Regions from separate parts of the Homo sapiens genome. Here regions 2, 3, 4, 5, 6 and 7 are each linked to region 1. The links are contacts of gene promoters, found by promoter capture Hi-C in blood cells and fetal thymus (Javierre and others, 2016). All regions are on one chromosome and are shown on one strand. Each heading gives the region's core, a stretch centred on a gene start or on the middle of the fragment in contact. The rest is flanking DNA. Distances are from core to core; before and after follow the strand shown. Region 1 holds the start of IDNK (IDNK gluconokinase). Region 2 has its middle 17 kb from the start of FRMD3-AS1. Region 3 holds the start of FRMD3-AS1 (FRMD3 antisense RNA 1). Region 4 has its middle 35 kb from the start of RMI1. Region 5 overlaps FRMD3-AS1 (FRMD3 antisense RNA 1). Region 6 holds the start of LOC124902190 (a long non-coding RNA gene). Region 7 overlaps FRMD3 (FERM domain containing 3).

What was found. The method cuts DNA at HindIII sites, captures the fragments that hold promoters and counts their contacts. A CHiCAGO score of 5 or more calls a contact.
Region 2: a fragment that was not itself captured here is called in contact with the fragment with the promoter of IDNK in region 1 in 5 of 17 cell types (megakaryocytes, M0 macrophages, M1 macrophages and 2 more); the score reaches 9.5 in megakaryocytes.
Region 3: the fragment with the promoter of FRMD3-AS1 here is called in contact with the fragment with the promoter of IDNK in region 1 in 1 of 17 cell types (monocytes); the score reaches 5.7 in monocytes.
Region 4: a contact is called between a fragment that was not itself captured here and the fragment with the promoter of IDNK in region 1, in 1 of 17 cell types (total CD8 T cells). The highest score is 6.1, in total CD8 T cells.
Region 5: a fragment that was not itself captured here is called in contact with the fragment with the promoter of IDNK in region 1 in 2 of 17 cell types (M2 macrophages and M0 macrophages); the score reaches 6.7 in M2 macrophages.
Region 6: a fragment that was not itself captured here is called in contact with the fragment with the promoter of IDNK in region 1 in 1 of 17 cell types (megakaryocytes); the score reaches 6.3 in megakaryocytes.
Region 7: a fragment that was not itself captured here is called in contact with the fragment with the promoter of IDNK in region 1 in 1 of 17 cell types (neutrophils); the score reaches 6.2 in neutrophils.

The regions. Positions count from the first base shown.
Region 1 is chr9:83,621,409-83,624,905 of GRCh38, reverse strand. IDNK (IDNK gluconokinase) reads right to left here and starts at 1,763. Exons shown (of 5, transcript NM_001001551.4): 1 at 1,685-1,763. The coding sequence starts at 1,734. RefSeq lists enhancers at 1,159-1,208, 1,229-1,358 and a silencer at 1,539-2,068. The HindIII fragment of the contact is 10,566 bases long and covers 1-3,144 here.
Region 2 is chr9:83,200,630-83,204,126 of GRCh38, reverse strand. It overlaps a transcript of RASEF not described here and the pseudogene RN7SKP242. Among named protein-coding and RNA genes, the nearest start is that of FRMD3-AS1, 17 kb to the left of the region's middle. The HindIII fragment of the contact is 211 bases long and covers 1,703-1,913 here.
Region 3 is chr9:83,217,759-83,221,255 of GRCh38, reverse strand. It overlaps FRMD3-AS1 (FRMD3 antisense RNA 1), which reads right to left and starts at 1,911. Exons shown (of 3, transcript NR_184120.1): 1 at 1,879-1,911. It also overlaps a transcript of RASEF not described here. The HindIII fragment of the contact is 11,674 bases long and covers 1-3,497 here.
Region 4 is chr9:84,013,558-84,017,054 of GRCh38, reverse strand. No RefSeq gene overlaps it. Among named protein-coding and RNA genes, the nearest start is that of RMI1, 35 kb to the right of the region's middle. The HindIII fragment of the contact is 356 bases long and covers 1,790-2,145 here.
Region 5 is chr9:83,235,294-83,238,790 of GRCh38, reverse strand. The region is part of intron 2 of FRMD3-AS1 (FRMD3 antisense RNA 1); the gene reads right to left. Among named protein-coding and RNA genes, the nearest start is that of FRMD3-AS1, 18 kb to the right of the region's middle. The HindIII fragment of the contact is 4,774 bases long and covers 1-3,497 here.
Region 6 is chr9:83,270,824-83,274,320 of GRCh38, reverse strand. The region is part of intron 13 of FRMD3 (FERM domain containing 3); the gene reads left to right. LOC124902190 (a long non-coding RNA gene) reads right to left here and starts at 480. Exons shown (of 3, transcript XR_007061614.1): 1 at 365-480. FRMD3-AS1 (FRMD3 antisense RNA 1) reads right to left here. Exons shown (of 3, transcript NR_184120.1): 3 at 3,488-3,497. The HindIII fragment of the contact is 3,911 bases long and covers 1-3,497 here.
Region 7 is chr9:83,289,322-83,292,818 of GRCh38, reverse strand. It overlaps FRMD3 (FERM domain containing 3), which reads left to right. Exons shown (of 14, transcript NM_174938.6): 13 at 2,092-2,216. LOC124902190 (a long non-coding RNA gene) reads right to left here. Exons shown (of 3, transcript XR_007061614.1): 3 at 2,952-3,497. Among named protein-coding and RNA genes, the nearest start is that of FRMD3-AS1, 72 kb to the right of the region's middle. The HindIII fragment of the contact is 1,669 bases long and covers 692-2,360 here.

The DNA.
Region 1 (3,497 bases), core at 514-3,013:
CCGTCTCTACTAAAAATACAAAAAATTAGCTGTGCATGGTGGTGGGCGCCTATAATCCCAGCTACTTAGGAGCCTGAGGCAGGAGAATTGCTTGAACCCGGGAGGAGGAGGTTGCATTGAGCCAAGATTGCACCACTGCACTCCAGCCTGGGCAACAGGAGTGAAGCTCCGCCTCAAACAAAACAAAACAAAAAAAAAACAAAAGAAGCTAAGCCTCAGAACCATTGCACCTGCCATTCCCTCTGCCTGTCCTGCCCTTTCCTCAGCTATCCACATGGCAGGTTCCTCAAGTCTTGCAGGTCTTTGCTGAAACGCCACTCCCCCAGAGGAGACATCCCTGACCACTCTGCCTGGCACTCTTTGTTCCCCTTACTCCAGAGCATCTATCACCAACTCACACACTACATATATTCATTTACTCTGTCTCCCATACCAGAATGTAAATCCTTTGAGGGCAGGGATTTTATCTGTCCTGTTCGCTATATGACAATGACATAGAGTAAGGATTGAGCTCAATAATTACTGAGTACATGAATATCACAAGCTATACATCATAGGGATTAGGCCTCCCTCATCTGATTCAAGACTCAGAGGGGGTACATGAACTGCCCAGGCTCACACAGCCAGACAGCAACAGAACCAAGACCTAGGGCTCTTCACTCCTGTTACATCACACCATGGCAATGATTTTACATTCTCCAACTGATTCAAATCATATGGCAGCTAGGGATTTGGGGGCTCCATGTTTTATTTCAATTGCAGTTCAAGATTTCTTTTTATCTTTGTGGCTGAGAACCCTACAATAATTTTGGAAAGCAAAACCCATCTACCTGGAGTAAATCTTTAATATACACCTGACTACACAGGCCACAACATGGGCCGTTCCTGATTCAGAAAATTCTAGAAGGGTCCTATAGGCCCTTGAAGGTTATGATGTTTTAGCTGATCAAGTTCTGTCCTTTGCTGCCTGTGGTCGAATGGTACAGCAGCTGTCTTTTCTGATAAAGGGCACAGTTAGACTTTGGTTTAAACAGGAAGCCAAATGTTAACTCCTCAGTCTCCAGGTTAGCACACTGGGCTACCTCTGTGGTTTCCACAATTCTCTTCTTTCTTTCCAAACCCTCAGGAGCCACCCTCCATATTAACGCTGTCTCCTTCCAGGTTAAGCTGATGAAAGGAAGGGGAAAACGATTCACTTTCCAAAATTGAATCGGAGAAGTCCAGGGCCTCATAGGAGGAGGCCGCTGTGTGTCCAGATGGCCAAAGGTCTGTGAGAGCCTGGGCCGTGGTTTGCGTCCTCTCGCTAGAGGCCGTGCGCCCTCCCGCCTGGCCCCGACAAGGCGCCCCGAAACCTAGCCCCGCGCCGCTCGCTAGGCCTCCACCTGCGCGGCCCCGCAGCCGCCTGTTCAGGAGCGGCTTCCTCCCTGAGCCTGCGGTCGCCGCAGCCTCCCCGTCTTAGAGCGGGAACCCGGAGCTCGGATGCGGTCCCAGGATGGGCGCCCCGCGAGCAGGCTGGAGGGCGGGGAGAGGGCGCGGCAGCCGCGGGCCTCGGTTTCTTCATCTGCAAAGGGAAGGGTGGGGGGTCCCCAAGACCCCAGTCCACCGGCAGGGACGGCGACGCGTCCGGCCTCCGCCGCGCCCGCAACACTTGTCCCGGGCGCCCCCCGCCCTCTCCCGGACCTACTTCCCCGAGCCGCTCACGCCCATCACCAGCAGCGCGCCCGGCGCCGCCATAACCCAAGCTCGGCTCCTTCCCGTCGCCTTCCGGGCCCCGCCGGCCCCGGCCTACCCGGCGCTCGAGGGGCGGAGCCGCTCTCGCCCCGGCCGGGGCAGTGAGGGCCGTGCCCCTCTGCGCCCTCCCCGTTTTCCCGCGCCCCTTTTCCATGCTTTCCTCCTCCCTTTCCCAACCTCCCGGCCTCTCTCTCCTGCCCCTTCTTTTCCTCTCCCCTCCCCTCCCTCTTTCCTCTTCCCGGAAGTGAAGCGCGCGCCCGGCCTGGCACTCGCGTCTCCCTGGGCTGGAGGGAGCCGCCCAAAGCCCCGCCACCTGTCGTTCTACTGCCCCGGCCCCTCTTGGTTCCAGAGGATCCTCACCCTGGCAGGCCGGATCCTCATCCACCCATGGAAAGCATTCATTCATTCATTTATAAAAATGTTCTTGTAAAAAGAATAAACAGAAAATAAGACTCATAATTTCCCACACCAGGCAGCAATAAGCAGCACTTCCTAAAACGACTCCCCTTTCCCCGCGCCCCGTCGTAGATAGATGGGTATGAGTATTTTGTAAAACTGGGATCAGGCCGTACACAGCGTTTTGTAATCTGGCCTTTTGTCACAATAATAAATGGCGGCCATCTTTTGGTGTCAAACTTAGGGTTGAGTGTTGACCGTAGCAGCATATGTCTTGGCTGTATGGCTCTGCTGTTAAATCCAGCACTGGTTGGGGCTTTAAGAGGAAGGAGCACCACTTTAAAGTGTCCATTTGCTTTAAAACAATGTTAATTATGTGTCGTTTGAACTATTTGATTAAAAGCACTTCTTTTTTTTTTTGAGACGGAGTCTCGCTCTGTCGCCCAGGTGGGACTGCGGACTGCAGTGGCGCAATCTCGGCTCACTGCAAGCTCCGCTTCCCGGGTTCACGCCATTCTCCTGCCTCAGCCTCCCGAGTAGCTGGGACTACAGGCGCCCGCCACCGCGCCCGGCTAATTTTTTTTGTATTTTTAGTAGAGACGGGGTTTCACCTTGTTAGCCAGGATGGTCTCGATCTCCTGACCTCATGATCCACCCGCCTCGGCCTCCCAAAGTGATTAAAAGCACTTCTAACCGCATTTGGCATCACCTCCTTTGGTCTTTTGTTAACCAAGGTAGGTATTACTCTGTGTCCTAGAAAACAATAAAAGTGACATAAAAGCATTTATCTAATGAATAGTTCAATTACCCCTGCACTGCCTTTGTTTTTCATATACTTAGCCCGAGTAGGTGAGATTTCAATCTGGATGGGGGCTGTACAGGTGAAGAAATTGAGGCTTGGAGAGAGGTCTTACAATTCAGTTATGGTCAATACACATTTCTTGAACATCTACCATGTGCTGGTTAATATCATATTAATATTCATTTAAAAGATTACCCTCTAGGCATTCTCAAGCTTGATAAGAGGAATAGATGTGTATGCAAATACTCTTAACTCGTGCCCTGCTTCGCTAGCTCAGTATGAAAAAAAAAAGCTCATATTTCTTTCAATGTTCAAATCAGAATGATTAGCAGAAAATCTGATTCTTCTCCTTGGATTTCTTTCCCCAGACATGTCCAAGGATCTTAAACTTGCTGTGCTGCTCAGGGTGGTGGCAGGAAACAGCATGCTCAAATTGGGGCAGGTGAACAGGATTTAACAAAGGGACTATTAGCACAGGTGTGGGTAGGGTCAGAAAAAGCAACTAGGGGCAGAGTCCACATCTGAGTAACCGAGAAGTGTTTTCACTCTTAAATAGAAAGGGGCTGAT
Region 2 (3,497 bases), core at 559-3,058, 420 kb after region 1:
CTAAATGTTTTTGAATACAGCTATTCATCTTCATCCTCACCTTCTTACCATCTGCTCTCCCTGGAGGACTGTGACACTGCCTTGTCCCCCTTAAGCAATCAGATGCTCACTCAGGCTCTCACTTTGATCTGTTCTCCACACTGCCATCAAAATGAGTTTTTCAAACATCTTTGAATGGCACTCTGCAGTGAATTGCCACTGCCCATAGAATAAAGGTTATCTACATCAGCATGTGTTTTGCGTTCTGAGTGTTTCCACCCCTGCCTCTCATCCTCTTGCTCCAGCCATAGGACCTCCCTTAGTTCTGCTGGCACCATGCACTTCCTCTCACCCCAGGGCCTTTGCATTTGCTGTTCCTCCTGACTGGAGTGCCCACCCATAGCCAGCTCCTCACTTACTTAAGTGATACTCACTCTTCAGATCTGAAATTTAGGACCCCAAGAGAGACCCCCACCGTACCACCTTCAGAACAGACCTGGTCTACTTACCTATTTTCTCTCAAGGCATCCTATTTTCACTTTCAACGAACTTACCTAAAATGTAATGGAATAGGCCAGGTGTGGTGGCTCATGCCTGTAATCCCAGCACTTTGGGTGGCTGAAATTGATGAATCACTTGAGATCAAGAGTTTGAGACCAGCCTGGCCAACATGATGAAACCCCGTCTCTACTAAAAATACAAAAATTAGCCAGGTATTGTGGTGAGTGCCTGTAATCCCAGCTGTTTGGGAGGCTGAGGCAGGAGAATTGCTTGAACCTGGGAGGCGTAGGTAGCAGTGAGCCAAGATGGCGCCACTGCACTGCAGCCCGGGTGACAGAATGAGAGTCCATCTCAAAAAAAGAAAAAAAAAAAGGACTGAAATAGAACATAAGGAGGGTCTACAAGGGCAAGACCAAGTCTGTCTAACTCACTAAGAGCTAGAAGTACTCAATATTTATTTAATAAATAAATGTAAAAATAAATGTAAATTTTGTAGGAACCCACACTAATTTTTAATGGATTGCTGTCGATCGTCTATTGATTATATATATGGGGCATATAATATCTATATATATAGATTCCATATATACAATAACTTCCATTTTGCTAGCTTTAACAATTAACAGTTGGGTCCATATAAGAGAATAATCTAAATATGTACATCTTTTTCTTTTAAGTACTGCTGTCCATTTACTTATTGTTAATTGACAAGTAAAAATTATATATATTATGGTGTACAACATGACGTTTTGATGTATGTATACCAGTAGAATGGCCAAATCAAGCTATTTAACATATGTAGTGCCTCACATACTTATCTTTTCTGTGGTGAGAACACTTAAAATCTAATTTCTTGGCTGGGTGTGGTGGCTCAAGCCTGTAATCCCAGCACTTTGCGAGGTGGGAGGATCACCTGAGGTGAGGAGTTTGAGACCAGCCTGGCCAACATGGCAAGACCCCATCTCTACTAAAAATTAAAACAAACAAACAAACAAACAAAAAAACAAGCCAAGCATAGTGGCGGGCACCTGTAATCCTAGCTACTGGGAAGGCTGAGGCAGGAGAATTGCTTGAATCTGAGAGGCTGAATCTGCAGTGAGCTGAGATCAAGCCATTGCACTCCAGCCTGGGCAACGGAGTGAGACTCCACCTCAAAAAAAAAATACTGCTTTCTTTTAATGCCATTTCTTGTTAAATTCATTTTAAAGTGCATTGGAAAGCTTTCTATCATTACAATGTGTGTTAGTTGTAGTTAAATATTAGCTTGACAATTGTTTTTCATTATGAATATTCATTATTTATAGTTCTGTTTTCTCTTTTGTTATCATTGTCTATTACATCTCTGAGTCATTGCAGCTGCTTGACTCATGTCTTTTAGCCAATTTTCCTTTTAAGCTGCATAGATATAGAAATTAATTAAACATACTTAAGCTTATGTGTTAAATAATAGTTAATAAGGCTTTGAATGAGAACTTAAGGAGCAAAGTGCATGTTGCTATGATGGGTGGTTTTTCTTTTTTTTTTGGACAGGAAGTAGGATTTATTGGTGGGCATTAGGAGGGAGCAGCACATGGGGAGCCCTCATGAGTGCAGGGCCTGCCACTTGTCCAGAGGGCCATAACTGGAGATGTATTTGACCCCATAGCCATCTGGGATGAGCCACTTCTCAGTCACCATGTTTTCAAATCATCTGCATGATGCAGTGTTATGTTAGCATTTTCATCTGTGTCCTGATCTGGCTTCTCGGTGCTTGAAGGAGTCAGACTTAGGAGTCTGATAATCTGGGAAGGGAGATATTATTGTATATATTCATGCCCTTAGGAGCTAAAACATTTAAAACAAAATGCTAAACTACTTGAGAATAGAACTGAAGAGACAACAAACCAAGCATGAAATCCTGCTGAGCATTTTTCCTTACTTACATATTCCAAGCATGAAATCATGCCAAGCACTATTCCTTACCTACATATTAAGTAAAATTAGATCCCAGGCAAGTAACTAATTTGTAGTGAGGAGTAGAGAAATAGAAAAAAGTCCCATTAATATTTACATTGAGTCCAACTGCTATATTGGTCCACGTGATAATACATGTTTCACTCCAAAAACATTTCTTACAATTATATTTTTTAAAAATTCTGAAATAGCACTAGATTGGTTAAGTAGTTGCCTCCAGAATCCACTTACTATTTGGGAGTGTCTCCTCCATTACCAAGGCCTCTTCCAAGAGAATATCCGAACTCTGGCATCCTCTACGTCCAAGGCATAATTCAAAATTATTTCAGCAAAACATGATGATAGGAATATGCTTTCCCCACTGCTAAGAACCCTGGATGGGCTTTTGCTTGTCATTCTCCAGCACCTTTTTGGTTGAAGGCCGAATGCAGTGGGCTGTGTGGAGGAGAACTGTGTTCCAGACAGGGACACATGGACAGTCTGGCTGTGACTTCTGTTCTGCCATCAACAGCCAGGGTACAGCAGCCTGGTCTGACTTGCTAGGCAGGTGTCCTTCTTCCACAGCTTCTCCAGGATTCTCCCAAACCTATATCATTGGGTGGGGTGGATGGCCTTTCTAGGAAGAGGAAAGCCCTCTTGCCTTCACAAGTCTACATTAGCTGCATTTCTCTGTTAGATCCTTTGATCAAACTCACTCCAGATATTGAAAGTCTTTATGTACAAAATCCTGGTCTATGGGTCTATGACCCTTTAAGAGAAGGGAGATGCTCTGGAGTGCTTGGACTCATCTTTGGAGCAAAGTCAGCTGGAGGTCATGTCCAGACTGGCAGCCTCAATGCAGCATTGTTTCCTTGGTAATCTGAGTAAATCCCAGCTCTTTTCTCACTTCAGGGAACCACAACATAGGCTATGACTTAACTAATTCATGTAGCAAGCTCACTGAGGCCCTGCTATGAGCTGACATTGCTTTAGAACCTGGGGATACAGCAGTGAACACAACAGACAAAATCACCTCTTCCTTCCTGGAGCTTACATTCCAGTGGAGTGAGACAAAAATGATGATG
Region 3 (3,497 bases), core at 662-3,161, 400 kb after region 1:
ATGATTTGGAAGTTTGAATTGGAGGAAGTGCATTCTACGTGATGTAGAAAAAGCTGCTCTTATTTTATGTTGCTAAAATAGAGGTCATAAGCTGACAGAATGGACTCTTTGTGGTAATAAGATACCAAATTATAAACAAGACCTAAGGTGGTAGTAGGCAAGGGTTAAGTCCTACAGCCCCTACAGTTAAAGAATAAACTATTTTCTAACTGCCTCAAGGTTTTTCTTTTTCTCTATCAGCAAAACAAGCACTGGTCTCCAGATAAGCAATATTGAAACAATTGCAGCTCACTAACCACCAAACACTGACTAACTGACCTCGTGCTCCACAAGGCATAACTACAGCTCTGACTGGACAAGAGACTGATTTCAGTAACTTTCTTCTAAGAGACCACAGACCGGTTCTGGCTGATTCATAGAGGCTGAGCGTTGATTACTTTCATGTCCCTGCTTCACCTTTTAATGTGTGTGGCCTAAATTTGACTGTATCTTAATGTTGTCTCCACCCCAAAGTGAACATGTGTTGTATGTTACATACATGTTCATTCTGTGCATATGTATTGACTCATAAATATTCATAAGATTCTCCTATAACCTACTGAATATGTATGTATAGCTAATTTCCTTGGGCATAAATCTCAACCTCTCCCTTTTATCCTCTGAAGTGCCTGCTATTGGTCTCTGCCAGAGGCTAGCTTCTACCTGTCATGATGGCCACCCTGCAAGCTGCAACTCGTTATAAGAAATAAAGTCTCCTCTCCAAATTTAAGATCTCATGATTTTAAGCTGACAATGCCTATACATGAAATAACAGAAGTCAGACCTATAAACAGGTTATCAAAATAAGGTACAGTAAATGCATGAGGTACTAGAGACCCATAGATTATCCCACTCTATTGAGCTGAGCGTCCCGTAAACCTCTAAGACAGGCTATGCAGATACGACAGGTCCTGATTTTATAGTCATTGAAGCTATGGCGATCCCCATTAGCGCAGAAGCGAGTCCTCTCTCACCACCACGCTGCCTCCTGAAGGTGGTCAGGTGAGGCTCATAGTTACTCAGTGTGCAGCCAAGGCTAACGCTTGGCTCCATCAATCCTGAAGTCCCACCTGATTGCCCAATGAAAGATAAAGCTCGGGGGGGCTGAGAAATAATACACGTGAACTGAAGGGCAGTGTAATGTTCCCCTCAAGGGGAACATTATTGCTTTACAAGCGTGGATTCTTTGTTCTGAACCCTAACTGTAAACTAGGAATTGGGGCTGAGAGCTTCTTCCATTTACAGCCCTAGGCTCTGCTCTGCATCCAAGCTCCGCTTCCTAGAAGTGCTGCTTATATTATTAACCAGGCTGCAGCCGGAATTAGCCAGAAACCACACTGTCGGCTCTGCTTTGCGGAAGGAATAGGAGCGAAGGACGAGGCTGCCCCCCAGTGGGAAACCCACAAGAAGCAGCGACGCTTCCAATCAGCTCACAACTTTCAGTATTGCAAGGAGAGGAATGGGCTCCGCATTTCCAGCTCCAAGCACTCCATTTCAGAGCCGCTGGGGAGGATTTTGGGGTGCAAATTCTTTTACCATTACGGGGTAGTGGTATGGCGTTGAGAAATAAGAATAGGCGAACCTCGTATCTACCAATCTCCCAACTCTATAAACGGCCCCTGGTTAAATCCAGATTCCGGATCCTGGCTGGGAGATTTTGATTTAGCAGGGCAGGAGTGGGAAACTAGGGAGGGTTTGGGTTTTAAATCAGCGTAATTCTGATCATCTGGCAAATTTGAATATTCTGCGCTGGGAGGCGACTTTCTGCTTCACTTTCCCAGAACCCGGGCAGGGGTCAAGCCCTTGCGAGTCAAGGGAACCCAGGAGTTGCTCTCTTACCTTTGTATTCCCGCAGCCTCCAACTGCAACTCCGGCGTCGCCCGGGCAGCCCGACCCAGCCAACCTGCCCAGGATCCGCCCATCCGCCGCGATTTCCATGGCGACCGATGGCGCCGCCTTCCGCAGCCTTAGGGCGGGGTAAGCGGGGGACCTAACTCTCTGTCCAGGCACTCAGTGCCCGACCTGCAAGTGGGGACGGAATTCTCGTCCAGGACAGTCAGGCTAAGAAGTAACTTTTATTATTATTATTATTTATTACTTTGAGTACTTCTTGCGCCCATTATTAAAAATTAAGTGTTTCTTTTTTGTTTTTGTTTGGTTCGGTGGGTAGAATATATGTGACATGTTTTTCTAGGATTTTCTTCTTAACATTTTATCTTCAGATTCAAATGCTTTGGACAGACTCACCGACTGCCCGGCTGAGAGAATCTGTGAGGTCTACCTGCCTAGCAATTTGCCTTTGCACGGTCCTCCTGTGAGGAGTGAGGACACACAGGTATGTGGCTTCTGTAAATGTCCACGCTGGGATAGTTCCCAGACCGTCGACTTTCTGTCCCTTTCTTGACTGTCCAGTCTCACCTTTCTCTCAAACACTGCTGCTTCAGCCGAATCCAGATGTGGGAGGCCAGGTTCTCAGGTGGCCTGGTGGGAATGCAAGGGCGGTGCTCTCAGAAACATCTGGGGGCGAGCTTGCCACTCAGAAGCAGGGAAAACTGTTTCAGCTTTCTTTATGAGAGAGACACACCTGGCTGGAGGTGCTGGTTTTTCTGCTTGACAACCCTGAGGCCTGGGCATACCTCAGAGGTGCTTCAGGTAGCTTGGTCAGCATGTTTCAGCTAGTCAGGTCCTACCCCCACGGTCTGTGGGCTTTTAGTTTTGGAGTGGGTATGATGGAGTCCTAGGACCCTGGATGACCTCACATTCAGGGTGCTTTCTTGGGGGCAGTTTGGCTGTTCAAGCTGGCTGGAGGCCAAATGGAAATCTAGACATCTCAGAAAACTGGTTGATATGCTGGGTTAGTGAGGATGAGGGAGGGGAGTGTTGTTTTACTTTTCACAGTAACCCAAAAGAGTTACCATCTATTACTATCTCCATTTTGTAGAAGAGGAAAGGGAGGCGCAGAGAATTTCAGAAACTCCCAGGATCTGGCTTCCACGTGCACACTTGGTACTTTGAATTTAGCTTAATTTTCTTTTTCCCTAATGGAGTGTTTATTCATGCTACCTTTCACCCACTCCTATTAATCTAGCCAAATTCATTCACTCATTTATCAGTAAGCTGTTTCATTTCTGCCCCCTCCCCTGTCACTGTAGTTCCACAGGACCAGAGACAACCACATGTGTTTTATGAAGTTATGTATCTGGCATGCAATTAGGCTCCAAGGAAAGTTTGATGAATGGATAAAGAGCAAAAGACAGTGAGTGCCTCAGAGTTTTTGCATTTATTGGATAAATTAGGAGGAGAAGGAAACATAAGTAACATTTATAATTACCTTTTCTGGACCAGACACCTAAGATATTTTATCCCCCTTTATTCCTGTACCGTGAGATAGGAAAAGTTTAAGACCCACTTCCCCACCCCCCAACTCTATTTTTATGAATGAGGAAACCGAATGTATT
Region 4 (3,497 bases), core at 718-3,217, 390 kb before region 1:
GCAAGGCTCTGTCTCAGAAAAAATAAAATAAAAAATAAATGATGGGAGTATGTCAAAGGGACACAAGAACCAAGGGAAAGAAGATCCCAATTGCCAAAGCTGAAACAATTTGAACAACAAAATTTAAAAAGTACTACTGAATTATAACCCAAATTATAAAATATATATCCATGAGTCTATATTCATATAAATCATTGAATAAATTAATTTATGAGGGAAAAGAAACAAATCTCTGTTTCAGAACAATTTCAAATAATTTATGTAGATACTCTGTCCTCAAGGAAGGAGGAACATAAATGGAACACAAACCTTCACTCCTTAAGTATAGATTACACACAGTTACTTCCTTCCAAAGCATTCAGTGTGGAAAGGCTGGGGGAGAGTGGAAGAATAACTTTACTGTAGAAAAACGACAAACACTATCTCATCCAGGTGATCAAGGTCAACATGAACAGTGATTAAATATGTTGATAGTATGTACCCTTGATATGATATAGTAAAAATGACACTTTACCTGTGTGGTCTTCCTCCCAGAAACCAATTAGCCAGTATCATAATGAGAAAAACATCACACAAATTCCAATAGAGGGGCATCCTACAAAGTACTTGACCAATACGCCTCAAAGCTGTCAAGGTCATCAAAAACAAGGAGAGTCTGAGAAACTGTCACAACCAAGAGGAGAGTAAGGAGACATGACAACTAAAGGTAATATAGTATCCTGGATGGGATCCTGGAAGAGAAACACATTAGGTAAAACCTACATACAATATAGACTTTGGTTAATAATGTAACAATATTGGATCATCAGTTGTAACAAATGTACCATACTAATGCAAGATGTTAATAATAGAGCAAACTGGGAGTAGAGTATATAAGAACTCTCTACTATCATCTCAAATTTTCTGCAAATCTAAAAAGGCTTTTTTTTTACAGGAGGTATCTAGAAAAGTAAGAGATGCAAGAGATTTGATATTGTCCTTAAGAAGTTGGAAGAACTTAAGGATGAGAAAAAGGTGTGAATACCCCCAAAATGGACAGCAAATAACACCCCCCATCACCCAAAAAAATCTCTACAAAAAGACTGGTAATGCCAATATACTACACATAACAACCTGTGCAATCACCAATATTTAAATAGTTGTAATAATGTGATCACTGCTTGACGTTTAACCTTTAGAATAAGCTTATAGAGGAAACAGATGTCATAAATCAGATTAATTAATAGAATGCAAACTTATTCAGTCTGATAATGTTGAAGTATGAGGAGACATTAAGCATAAAGAAAAGTTAGGAGTACTAATTAGACTATTTTGTAATATGAGTAGTCAGGAGAAATGGCCTATAGTTGTAATAAGAAATCAAAGTGTAAGTTCACCATTTCATGGTTTTGTTTGTTTATTTGTTTGTTTGTTTTTGAGACAGAGTCTCGCTCTGTCGGCCAGGCTAGAGTGCAGTGGCACGATCTCGGCTCACTGCAACCTGTTTCCTGGGCTCAAGCAATTCTGTCTCAGCCTCCCAAGTAGCTGGGATTACAGGCGTGTGCCACCACACCCGGCTAATTTTGTATTTTTAGTAGAGACGGGGTTTCACCATGTTGGCCAGGCTGCTCTCAAACTCCTGACCCCAGGTAGTCCGCCTGCCACGGCCTCCCAAAGTGTTGGGATTACAGGCACGAGCCACTGCACCCGGCCCATCATTTCATGTTTTAATAATAGCCAATAAAGAAAACCAAAAAGAGTTTTGTAATGGATGGAAAAAAGAGATGCAGGAATCAAGTGAGTTAAAGCTTTATCAGAGCTAACTTGACAGGTAGAAGTCTAAATAATGGAAATTCCCGTATTATTTAAAGAATGAGGACAATCAATAGATACACTAAAAACAGACCTTAATAGGCAACATCGGTCTCCCTGGGGAGCAGAATAGGAGTGGGACGTGGGAAACAGTGAAAAAGAGGATTGCTACTTTTTATCATGGTCTTTCTATACTATGTAATTTTGCGATTATGTTTATGTATTGCTTTGATAAAAGGATTTTAACTTTCTAAAGAAACATTCTTTGTAAAGCATTTAGCACAGTGTCTAACACTCAGCAAGGAGCTCACAACCTTGGCAAAAATTCTTGGATCCATGCATGGCACAAAAGCTTCAAATCCTACTTTGGTAAAAAACAGTAAACAGAAAACAAAGAACGCCATTTCTCTACTCACATCCCATTTCTAGCACCAATTCTAGAGTGTTTTTCCAACACCAACAACGAATTCTCTGATTCTCTGGACACAAACTGGGTGTCCAATAATTCAACTCAATACTGAATTCAATTCAATTCAATACTAACTACCTGGAGTTAAAGCAGACCCCACAGGTTAAGAGCTCAGTCTCACAAGACTGCTCCCCACATCCAAGTCCAGGCCACCTGTACTTATGACCAACTGGGTATAAATCAGGGGATCCCACAAGCCACTCCTTGGGTTCAATAATTTATTAGAACATCTCATAAAACTCAGAAAAACAATACTTAAATTTACAAGTTTATTATAAAGCAAACAATTCAGTGAAGGAGGGGTCAGAGCTTCCATGCCCTCTCCAGCTGTGCTACCCTCCCAGCACTTTGATGTATTCACCTGGAGGCTCATCAAATCTAATTATTCAAGTTTGTATACAGAGGTGAGTGGGTGGGGCAGAAAGTTTCCACCTTCTAATTACTTGGACTTTCTGGTAACCAACTTGATCCTGAGGCCTTTTTGGGGCCCCACCCTAAGTCGCTTCATTAGCATAAACTCAGATGTATTCAAGAGAGGCTCCTTGTGAACAAAAAGGACACTTATGTGAGTTATTTTACAACTCTATTAATTGTAGATAACTGATAGCAATACAAAACAACTCTTGCCTTGTTCATAGTTTTTTAAAACTTTTGTAGAAATGGGGTCTCACTATGTTGCCCAGGCTGCTCTCCAACTCCTGGCTTCAAGCAATTCTCCTGCCTTGGCATCTCAAAGTGCTGGGATTACCCATTTGAGCCACTGTACCCGGCCTTCTCTTTGGCTCATGTCTGTAATCCCAATACTTTGGGAGGCCAAGGTGAGAGGATTGCTTTACGACCAGCTTGGCACAGGGAGACCCCATCTCTACAAAAAGTAAAAATAAATTAGCCAGGTGTGGTGGTGTGTGCCTGTAGTCCCAGCTACTCAGGAAGCTGAGGTGGGAGGATTGCTTGAGCCCAGGAATTGGAGGCCGCAGTGAGTTATGATTATGAGTTATGATTGTATCACTGCACTCCAGCCTGGGCAACAGAGTGAAATCCCATCTCCAAAAAATATATTAAATACATAAATTTAATTAATTAAAGAAAGAAGAGAAATAATCCCATATTAGGCCTTTTATCAGCCAGTGTGATGGTACCAAGTAGGATGGAAGTAATAGTAGGAGAGACAGACGCAGAATTTCTAAATGGTTTGTTTTGGTTCTGCTTCATCAGTTAATTCAGAATTGTTGGTATA
Region 5 (3,497 bases), core at 409-2,908, 390 kb after region 1:
TGGAAATGTAAAAGGTACAGACTAACCAAAATAATATTGAAAAAGAACAAAGTTGAAGGACTCGCACTTCCCAATTTCAGAACCTAATGCAAAGCTGCAGTAATCATGACAGTGTGGTACCAACATCAGGATAGACATATACATCCGTAAAATAGAACTGAGAGTCCAGAAACAAAACTATGCATTTGTGAAAAATTGATTGTGAACAAGATGACAAGACAATTCTAAGGGGAAAGAATAGTCTTTTCAACAACTGATATCTAACAGCAAAATCATAAAATTGGACCAATTTCTCACACTGTATACACAAATTAGCACAAAATAAATCAGAGACCTTGTGTTTAATAAAATTTACAAAACTTTTAGAAGAAACATAAGATCAGATCTTTGTAACCTTTGATTAGAGAGGATGGTTTCTAAGGACAGCAAAAGCACTAGAGACAAAATAAAAAATAGGTAAATTAGATAGTAATAGATAAATTTAAAAACTTTTGTGCTTTAAAAGACACTGTCAAGAAAAGTGAAAAGACAAAACACTGAAGGGATGAAAATATTTTTAAATCATACATCCGATAATGAATTTGTACCCATAATACATAAAGAATACTTACAACTCAGTAATAAAAAACATAACCAATTTTTAAAGTAGGAAATGTTATCACAATAGACATTTTGGTAAAGGAAATATGCAAATGGATAGTAAGCACACGAAAAGATGTCCAATATCATTAGTCATTAAAGAAATGCAAATCAGTGCCACATTGAGATTCTACTTTACACCCACAAGAATGGCTATAATAAAAAGACAGGCCACGAAGTGTTGCTGAGGATGTGGATAAATTGAAACCCTCATATATTCCTGGTAAAAATGTAAAATTGTGCAGCTACTAGGCTGGGCGCGGTGGCTCACACCTGTAATTCCAGCACTTTGGGAGGCCGAGGCGGGCAGATCACGAGGTCAGGAGATCGAGATCATCCTGGCTAACACGGTGAAACCCCGTCTCTACTAAAAATACAAAAAATTAGCCGGGCGCTGTGGCGGGCGCCTGTAGTCCCAGCTACTCCGGAGGCTGAGGCAGGAGAATGGCGTGAACCCGGGAGGCAGAGCTTGCAGTGAGCCGAGATCGCGCCACTGCACTCCAACCTGGGCGAAAGAGCGGGACTCCGTCTAAAAAAAAAAAAAATTGTGCAGCTACTTTGGAAAACAGTTTCGTAGTTCTTCAAAAAGTTAAGCATAAGGTTACCATACAAGCCAGCAATTCCACTCTTAGGTATATACTCAAGAGAACAGAAAACATATATTTACACAAAAAAATGGGTAATTTTCATAGCAGCACTTTGCATAATAGCACAGAAGTGGAAACAACCCGTATGTCCATCGGTTCGTAAATTGCATAAACAAATGTAGTGTATCCATTCCATAAAAATGAATGAAGTATTGGTACACGCTACACCATGGATGAACTTTGAAAACATTATGCTAAGTAAAAGAAGCCAAAAGCAAAAGGCCATCTATTGCATGATTTGATTTATATAAAATGTCCAGAATAGGCAAATCTATAGAGACAGAAAGTAGATTAGTGATTTCCACGGGTAGGGAGAATGAAGAATGACTGCTAATAGGTACAGAGTTTCTTTTTTGGGTGATAAAATTTTTCTTTGAATTATGTAGTTGCGATGGTCGCATGACTCTGTGAACAAAGACCAATGAATTTTATGCATTATTTATGGTATGTTAATTATAGCTCAACAAAGCTGTTAGCAAAAATTATATTTGTTGTGGTTCACTATGTTATTTTTTAACATATTTTGTGAGGAGTACGAGTTGAGTAGCTTTATTATAACCAAGAACCTTTCCATTTCTATTTGTCAGCAAGTTTTGTCAGTACTTAATTCTATCAAAATGAAAAATAGATAATGCTGAACCCAGTTTCATTTTAGCGATAAGTAATATTTGTGCATAAAGATTAAATAATTTGATTTATACCATTGATATTTACTTCTAATAAATTTTTAACTTTTGTTCAATAGTTACTTAAGCTATTATGAAATAACTATTAATATTTTCTTATGAACTATGAATATTAATATTTTAATAGATTCTACAAAAACTATTAAAAACAAAAATTTTAATTTTTTTACACAAAATAATTTTGTGCATCATTATTAGTGCTTCTGTAAAAATGACAAAAGGCCAGAGTATAAAATTGCTGCCTAGGAGATACTGATATAAAGATAGAAGTAGCTGGCATATCTGGAACAGAAAGTCGGTGTAATATGATGGCTAAGAGCTCAGGCTCTCCAGCCAGATGGCCTCAGCTCTGGTCTCAGCTTTCCTGCTCTTCTTAGGTGTAACTTTAGGTAACTCATTTGATCTCTTGAATTCTTGGCATCCTCATCTTTAAAATTATGTTTAACTACAGCACTTATCTCAGAGCTGTTATGGAATTTAAAAATAAGTTAGAATTTGCAAATCCCTTAGCAAAGTCTTGGACATGTAGTAACTACTTGAGAAATGCTAGGAGTTAAGGCCCATAATCTGGCACCTCCAGGTCATTCTAGACTCATCGTAACCATTTCACTCTTTGAGGACATCCTGTTCTACTGAAGTAATAGCATCATGGTGGCAATGCATAACAAAATTGGATTTGGAAGTTTCAGAAGATATAACAAGAACCAGAATTTGCTTCTAAAAAACATCTATTTTTCTTCTACATTTATTTATAAACAAAACATCTCGTTGCCTATAACGTGGATACACATCCAAAATAGTAAGACATCAGAAAATAGAATACATCAAAATTCCTTTCAGGAGGAAACTGTGTTTGTAAGAAAGAAATGTTTTTTTCTAAGTTGTTCAAAGTAGGGAGTATATTGCAAATGTATAGTCAAGTTACAAATGCAAGGTCTCCTGATTTCTTTCTCTGCGTGACTTTCTTTTTTCTGGTCCTCTGTCCTGTGCTATTTACCTTTTGATAAATGTTCGATGTGGAAGTTGATTCTCAGAACCCTTGGCACAATAGCCTTGGTTACCCACATCCATTTCAAGAGCTCCTAACAGTTTGGAAACACTGGATCTTGCTTTGGGTGCAGTTGAATCTTCAACCCCTGTGGTGAGACCTATTTCTATGTAGATTAGAAAGAAACAATGATAGCACAGTGATTGCAAAGATGAAGAAACAGGATTTGAATTCATTTAATTTCACCATTCAGTGTGACTCAATCACAATTTAAAAATTTTTTAATTTAAAATTTAAAATGTTTGCCAACTATGAAGTGTAATATTTTTGTTTTATAAGTGCAAATTTTATTTCATACATATTTTCTGAATATGATAACATTTTAAAATTGCAATGTATTCTTTTTAATTGTTAATTATTTGTCTTCAAACAAAAGAACAAATAAGAAAACAAAATCTCACATTAGTAATTGCCTAAATTAGGTCGGGCGCAGTGGCTCATGCCTGTAATCCCAGCACTTTTGGAGGCCGAGGTGGG
Region 6 (3,497 bases), core at 424-2,923, 350 kb after region 1:
TAGATGACTGAAGGGAGAGGACTCAATCTAGCTGACTCTTCTGGTCCTGACCTGAAGCCCTAAGATTAAATAGAAGTCCTGTGTTGTAGAGTAAAACACAAAATCCAGAGTTCTAATTTGCTTCCACTGAGAACTCATAATAAGTGCTGTGCATATTTATAATGCATCAGGCTTTTTATATCATTTAAAAAGAACAAATGGGCCAGGCATGATGGCTCATGCCTGTAATCCTTAGTGCTTTTGGAGGCTGAGGTGGGAAGATCCCTGAGGCTAGGAGTTCAAGACCAGCCTGAGAAACCTAGTGAGATGCCGTCTCTATAAAAAAATGTAAAAAAATTATCCAAATTTGATGGCGTGTACTTACAGTCCTAGCTGCTTGGCAGGCTGAGGCAGGAGGATCACTTTGAAGCCCAGGAGGTCGAGGCTGCAGTGAGCTATGGATGGGCCACTGAACTCCAGCCTGGGTGACAGAGCAAGACCCTGTCTCAAAAAAAAGAAAAGAAAACACCAAGTGACTTTTTTGTATTTTTGTTCTAATTTTATTTTAAAGTGCATTTAAATGTTATCCTATTGGAGCAGAATATGATAATTTTAGACACTTTGTGCATAAATCTTAGTCAATTTCTTGGAGGGGGTGAGGAACTGTATGCATTCTTTGTAACAGGAGCAGTAACTTTTTTTTTTTTCCCCAGGTTTTTTTTTTTTTTTTTTAGTATTTATTGATCGGATTTGGCAGGGTCATAGGACAATAGTGGAGGGAAGGTCAGCAGATAAACAAGTGAACAAGGGTCTCTGGTTTTCCTAGGCAGAGGACCCTGCGGCCTTCCGCAGTGTTTGTGTCCCTGGGTACTTGAGATTAGGGAGTGCTGATGACTCTTAACCAGTATGCTGCCTTCAAGCATCTGTTTAACAAAGCACATCTTGCACCGCCCTTAATCCATTTAACCCTGAGTGGACACAGCACATGTTTCAGAGAGCACGGGGTTGGGGGTAAGGTTATAGATTAACAGCATCCCAAGGCAGAAGAAATTTTCTTAGTACAGAACAAAATGGAGTCTCCCATGTCTACTTCTTTCTACACAGACACAGCAACAATCTGATTTCTCTATCTTTTCCCCACATTTCCCCCTTTTCTATTCGACAAAACCACCATCGTCATCATGGCCCGTTCTCAATGAGCTGTTGGGTACACCTCCCAGATGGGGTGGCAGCCGGGCAGAGGGGCTCCTCACTTCCCAGAAGGGGTGGCCGGGCAGAGGCGCCCCCCCCCACCTCCCGGACGGGGCAGCTGGCTGGGTGGGGGCTGCCCCCCACCTCCCTCCCGGACGGGGCGGCTGCCGGGCGGAGATGCTCCTCACTTCCCAGACGGGGCGGCTGCCGGGCGGAGGGGCTCCTCACTTCTCAGACGGGGCGGCTGCCGGGCGGAGGGGCTCCTCACTTCTCGGACGGGGTGGCCGGGCAGAGACGCTCCTCACCTCCCAGATGGGGTCGTGGCCGGGCAGAGGCGCTCCTCACATCCCAGACGGGGCGGCGGGGCAGAGGCACTCCCCACATCTCAGATGATGGGCGGCCGGGCAGAGACGCTCCTCACTTCCTAGATGGGATGGCGGCCGGGAAGAGGCGCTCCTCACTTCCCAGACTGGGCAGCCGGGCAGAGGCGCTCCTCACTTACCAGACTGGGCAGCCGGGCAGAGGCGCTCCTCACTTCCCAGACTGGGCGGCCGGGCAGAGGGGCTCCTGACATCCCAGACGATGGGCGGCCAGGCAGAGATGCTCCTCACTTCCCAGAGGGGGTGGCGGCCGGGCAGAAGCTGCAATCTCGGCACTTTGGGAGGCCAAGGCAGGCGGCTGGGAGGTGGAGGTTGTAGCGAGCGGGGATCACGCCACTGCACTCCAGCCTGGGCAACATTGAGCACTGAGTGAACGAGACTCCGTCTGCAATCCCGGCACCTCGGGAGGCCAAGGCTGGCAGATCACTTGGGGTTAGGAGCTGGAGACCAGCCCGGCCAACACAGCGAAACCCCGTCTCCACCAAAAAAAAAAACGAAAACCAGTCAGGCGTGGCGGCGCCCGCCTGCAATCCCAGGCACTGGGCAGGCTGAGGCAGGAGAATCAGGCAGGGAGGTTGCAGTGAGCCAAGATGGCGGCAGTACAGTCCAGCTTCAGCTAGGCATCAGAGGGAGACCGTGGAGAGAGAGGGAGACAGAGGAGAGAGAGGGAGACAGAGATGGAGGGAGAGGGGGAGGGGGAGGGAGAGGGAGAGCAGGAGCAGTGACTTAACAAGAGCAACTATCTTGAGTCACAATCATGCTTGTTGGCTTTCCTTACCTAAGTTAACCGACTGCTTTGAATGATGTGCTCTTTTCCGTTTATAAATAAGTTGGAGAGTCAGGAAAATACAAGGAAGTAAGTCATGATAAGGAGGTCTTAGAGCTACTGAGAACAGTGGTGTTGAAGAATGCCCAGCTGTGCTGCTTGAACTATACTTTGTCTGCAACTGTATTCTCCAGAGGATTTTTATTGACCTTTCCCCAGACTCTACAAGGTGATGCTGGGCCCCAGAGAGCAGTTATCTCAGCTTACAGGCAGGAAACATTCAGTCTGATATGGGAAATCATAAGAGGAACAGTGTCTAATATGCCAAAGCATCTTATGCATTTCCAGGGTTTTGTTCATGTAAGTTATCATAATTTGACACTCATGACCATTTCTTTGAATTGGATAGAACAGATACTGTTGTCTCACTTTCCAAACAAGGAAATTAAGTTATACAAATGGTTGATTACCTGGCCATATGGTCCTTTCTCTCAGTCTCTCAGTGATGTTGGGAACAGCTTCCCTTTCTTTTTACTGTATACCCAAGAATATACCCCTCCTATCATAAATATATTATTAAAATTATTGTTTATATGTTTTATTAATACAATCTTTAAAAAGTCCTCTGAAGTATATGTTAGTCCCAAGGACTCTTTTTAATGGATACTTAATGTCTAACCTGATTACAAAGAACATTTAATGAATGTAATAATAATTTATTATCTTTCCACTTGGAGCTAGCAGTTAGCTAAAATTTCAGTGAATCTCTCAAACTATTTTAACTAATGGCTGACTCCACTATACTTGTCAAGTCTGTTGGTTTCTAATGTAGATAAATTGCATGATATTGATGATGATATAATTATAGTTAGTATTTATTAAATGCCTATTCCATGTCAGGAACCCAGTCATGTAAACACCCAGTATCCTCACCATTTTGCAGATAGAAAATTGCATTCAGCAGGCTTCTGTAGGTTTCCCAAGGTAATAGGCATGGCCGGGTTAACTCCTCACAACCAGCAATACTGCTACTATTGGGGAGGAGTAACTCGTAATAGTATGTTAAGACATATGGTTGACAGAAGGAAGAGAATCCAGGCTATTTAAAATCCTCACAGTCTTCCTCTTGAGCAGTTAAAAAGAGACCAAAAAAAAAAAAAATGACCATGTATTGAAAAAAA
Region 7 (3,497 bases), core at 277-2,776, 330 kb after region 1:
AAAATTAGCTGGGCATGGTGGCAGATGCCTGTAATCCCAGCTACTCGGGAGGCTGAGGGAGGAGAATCACTTGAACCCAGGAGGTGGAGGTTGTAGTGAGCCGAGATCGTACCACTGCACTCCAGCCTAGGCGACAGAGTGAGACTCCGTCTCAAAAAAATAAAAAATAAAAAATACAAAGTTGGGGGTAGTTATGAAATAAAGTAGTGATCAAGACTGGGACTTAAAATGAACTAGAATTTTAAAATAGTGGATTATACATAGATATGTAACTATTGTTCCATAAGACATTAATTTCAGTTGTGCTTCTTCCTGTGTGTGTTTGGGTACAGGGAGATTATATAAAATGTGTTTCTTGGGGCTGGGCGTAGTGGCTCAAGCCTGTAATCCCAGCATTTTGGGAGGCCGAGATGGGCAGATCATGAGGTCAGAAGATGAAGACCATCATCCTGGTTAACACAGTGAACCCCGTCTCTACTAAAAATACAAAAATTTAGCTGGGTGTGGTGGCACACACCTGTAATCCCAGCTACTCGCGAGGCTGAGGCAGGAGAATTGCTTGAACCCAGGAGGCAGAGGTTGCAGTGAGCCGAGATTGCACCACTGCACTCCAGCCTAGGTGACAGAGCGAGACTCTGTCTCAAAAAAAAAAAAAAAGTATTTATTAATGTAGGTCTCAGACCAGAAAGCTTAAAAATTATGGTTCTAGACAGTGAGTTACTTAAGGTGAGGACTACAGTTCTCTGGAGCAAAGCAGAATGTCCAATTTGTATATATCAGCTGCAGAGTAAATGGCTGTAAAATGAAATAATGAAGAAAAGGACTCCATGGCTAAGCAAGTCCTCATAAATTTCCTTTCTAGCCCATGCCAGCCATGGGAGCTTTTAATTCAAGATGGTAGCAGGCATCTTGCTGTTCCCCACTCCTGCTGCCCAACAGAAACACTCAGGCTAGAAGGTAGTCCTGCAGCCGGTCTAGGGAACACTCTGACCAGGCTGAAATGGCAACATATGTCAAGCCAGGATTGCATTTGGTGCACTTTAGTTTCAAACCTGAACACATTTTCACAAGATGCCAAGTGAGATGCACAAGTATGGCTGGCTCAGTCTCTGCCCTTAAGGTGCTTATCTAGGTGGGGATGATCAGTACACCAATAACTAGACAGAGACAGAGGTGAAAATGCAGTGAGTTATGAAAGAAGAGAAAGTAGTCAAAGAGAGGGAGAGGAAGGGAGAGAGAGAGAGAGAGAGACTGTGTGCATTGGGAGGAGCAATCTGGGAAGGCTTCCAGGGGAAGGAAACATTTGACTCCTTTTTAAAGTATGCACTGGTTTTGGTTTTGACAGGAAGCATGGGGAGTGAGGAAGGGTGTGCAAACATCCACCTGCAGGCAGACTAGGGCAAGCAGCTAGTATCTCTGCAGCAGGTAGGGCAAGCGGGCTCCCCAGCTCCCAACCAATAGGCTTAATGAGATACCTGCACAGTTTCCTTGCCATCTGTTGCTAGTCTCAGCCAGACACACCTGCATGCTCCTTTCCAGAGGAGAAAACAGAGCCATGGCCAGTTAGTGAGTAGGGTGTAACTTTGAGAATATTAAACACTGATATTAAACATTGGACATCCAGCAACACAAAGATAGCTTATAGCTGTAGAACATCTGCATCATCTATCTGGCAGGGGTTTTTGTTTTTGTTTGTTGGTGGTTGTTAAATTTCTCTGAGCCATGCCCTTCATTCACTTTTCTACATATCTAGTTCAGTGCTAGCTACCTCCCATGTCTTTTTGTTTCTTCTTTCTTTTTTTTTAAAAAACGCCCAGGCTGTCACCTAGCATGCTCAGGGCTGGTGATGTATTGGGAACTGTATTTTCTTTCGTTGAGTTGCAGTAGAACATAGGGACATTTGGTCAGGACCTTAAGAGCAGAAAGGGCCATTTATCTTGAATGTTACGTCATCTTTACTACTGGCTCAATTCACTGTGTCTGGAGGTAGTTCCCTGTAGACACAAAATGGTAGCTTGGGCAGCCCGCTGAGATGGAGGGGCCAGCATTTGTGATGGAAACCAACTCTGTCTGGCTTGTGTCTGTTTTCAGAGCCAACATTACTCAGAGCCGCAGTTCCCACTCCTTGAACAAACAGCTCATCATTAACATGGAACCCCTGCAGCCCCTGCTTCCTTCCCCCAGCGAGCAAGAAGAAGAACTTCCTCTGGGTGAGGGTAAGTCTGTCTCTTCATCCCAAATGCTGGTGCTGCAGGCTTCCTCTGGAAAAAACAAGGGAGGCGCCAATTCTGCATATGATGGGTAATTGATTAGTGTATGGGGTGGAGTGGGCCATAAACTATGTTTTTAGTAAATAAGCTTTTTGCAGCTGGAAGGCTGTATTATACTGGGAGCTCTATTAGTTTCTCTTGGAGAGACTTCACTGGTATAAAGTATTTCTAAAATTATATATGAAAAGACTAATGGTGTTAGACCTACACCAGTCCAGTACACTAACCATTAGCCATGTGTGGCTGTATTAAACTAAGTTTAAATTCATTGTAATTAAAAATCCATTTCCTCAGTCACAATAGCCAGATTCTCAGTGCTCAATAGCCACATGTGGCTGGTGGCTGCCATATTGGACACTGAGACTGAGATAATTTCCTCTATCACTGAAACTTCTATTGGATGTTGATGTCTGCCACTGTAATCACAATTAAATTGGTGGCAATAAAGAGTTCTCCACAAGTATCTCTACACTCGTCATCCCATTTATTCCCCCAGGCTTCTTGTTCTTGATCCTTCATTTACATTGTCCAACAGTTTTGATACAAGCTAAAAAAAAGTGAAGTGTCCACTGCAACCCCCACATTTGTTATATTTTTAAAGATAATAATAATATGTGTGTTTCTAGGCATCTTTGTTTTTAAGGACTCTCCTTACTTCAGGGAAGAATCTCACCACAATGCTTGCTGCAAACACCTGCAGACATCTCACATTTTATTAATTTCAAAGATTTGTTTAAATTAAGTTGATGAAATTAATTAAATTGAAAACAAATGCACACAAAATAAACTTATTGGAACCTTTGAATACAAACATGCTTTTTCTTAACTTTGTGATTCTGGTTTCATCGTTGAAAATCTGGATACTGGGCAGTTTCAAGAGGGCAGATCACTCTGTCCCCAAAAGATCACCTTCACCTCCAGCTTCAAGTCAAGAATTTATTTCACAGGAGAAAACTTCTTAGTCTATAATAAGGATATGGCTTGGAATGCAGATACCCTTGAGATAGGTAGCAGCAACCAATTTGCAGTGACACATAAAAAATTCTAGTAAATCTTTTCCTGAAAGGCAGCTTTGATGGTTAGAAGGAGAACTAGGCAACTGGATGCCCAAAATTCCATGGGTGGAGGAAAAGTGTGCAAAGTATGAAAGATGGGATCTTAGAAGACACTACTTGTCTTCAACTGGGCTACAAGAGATGATGATAATGAGAACACTCTTGTTATAAA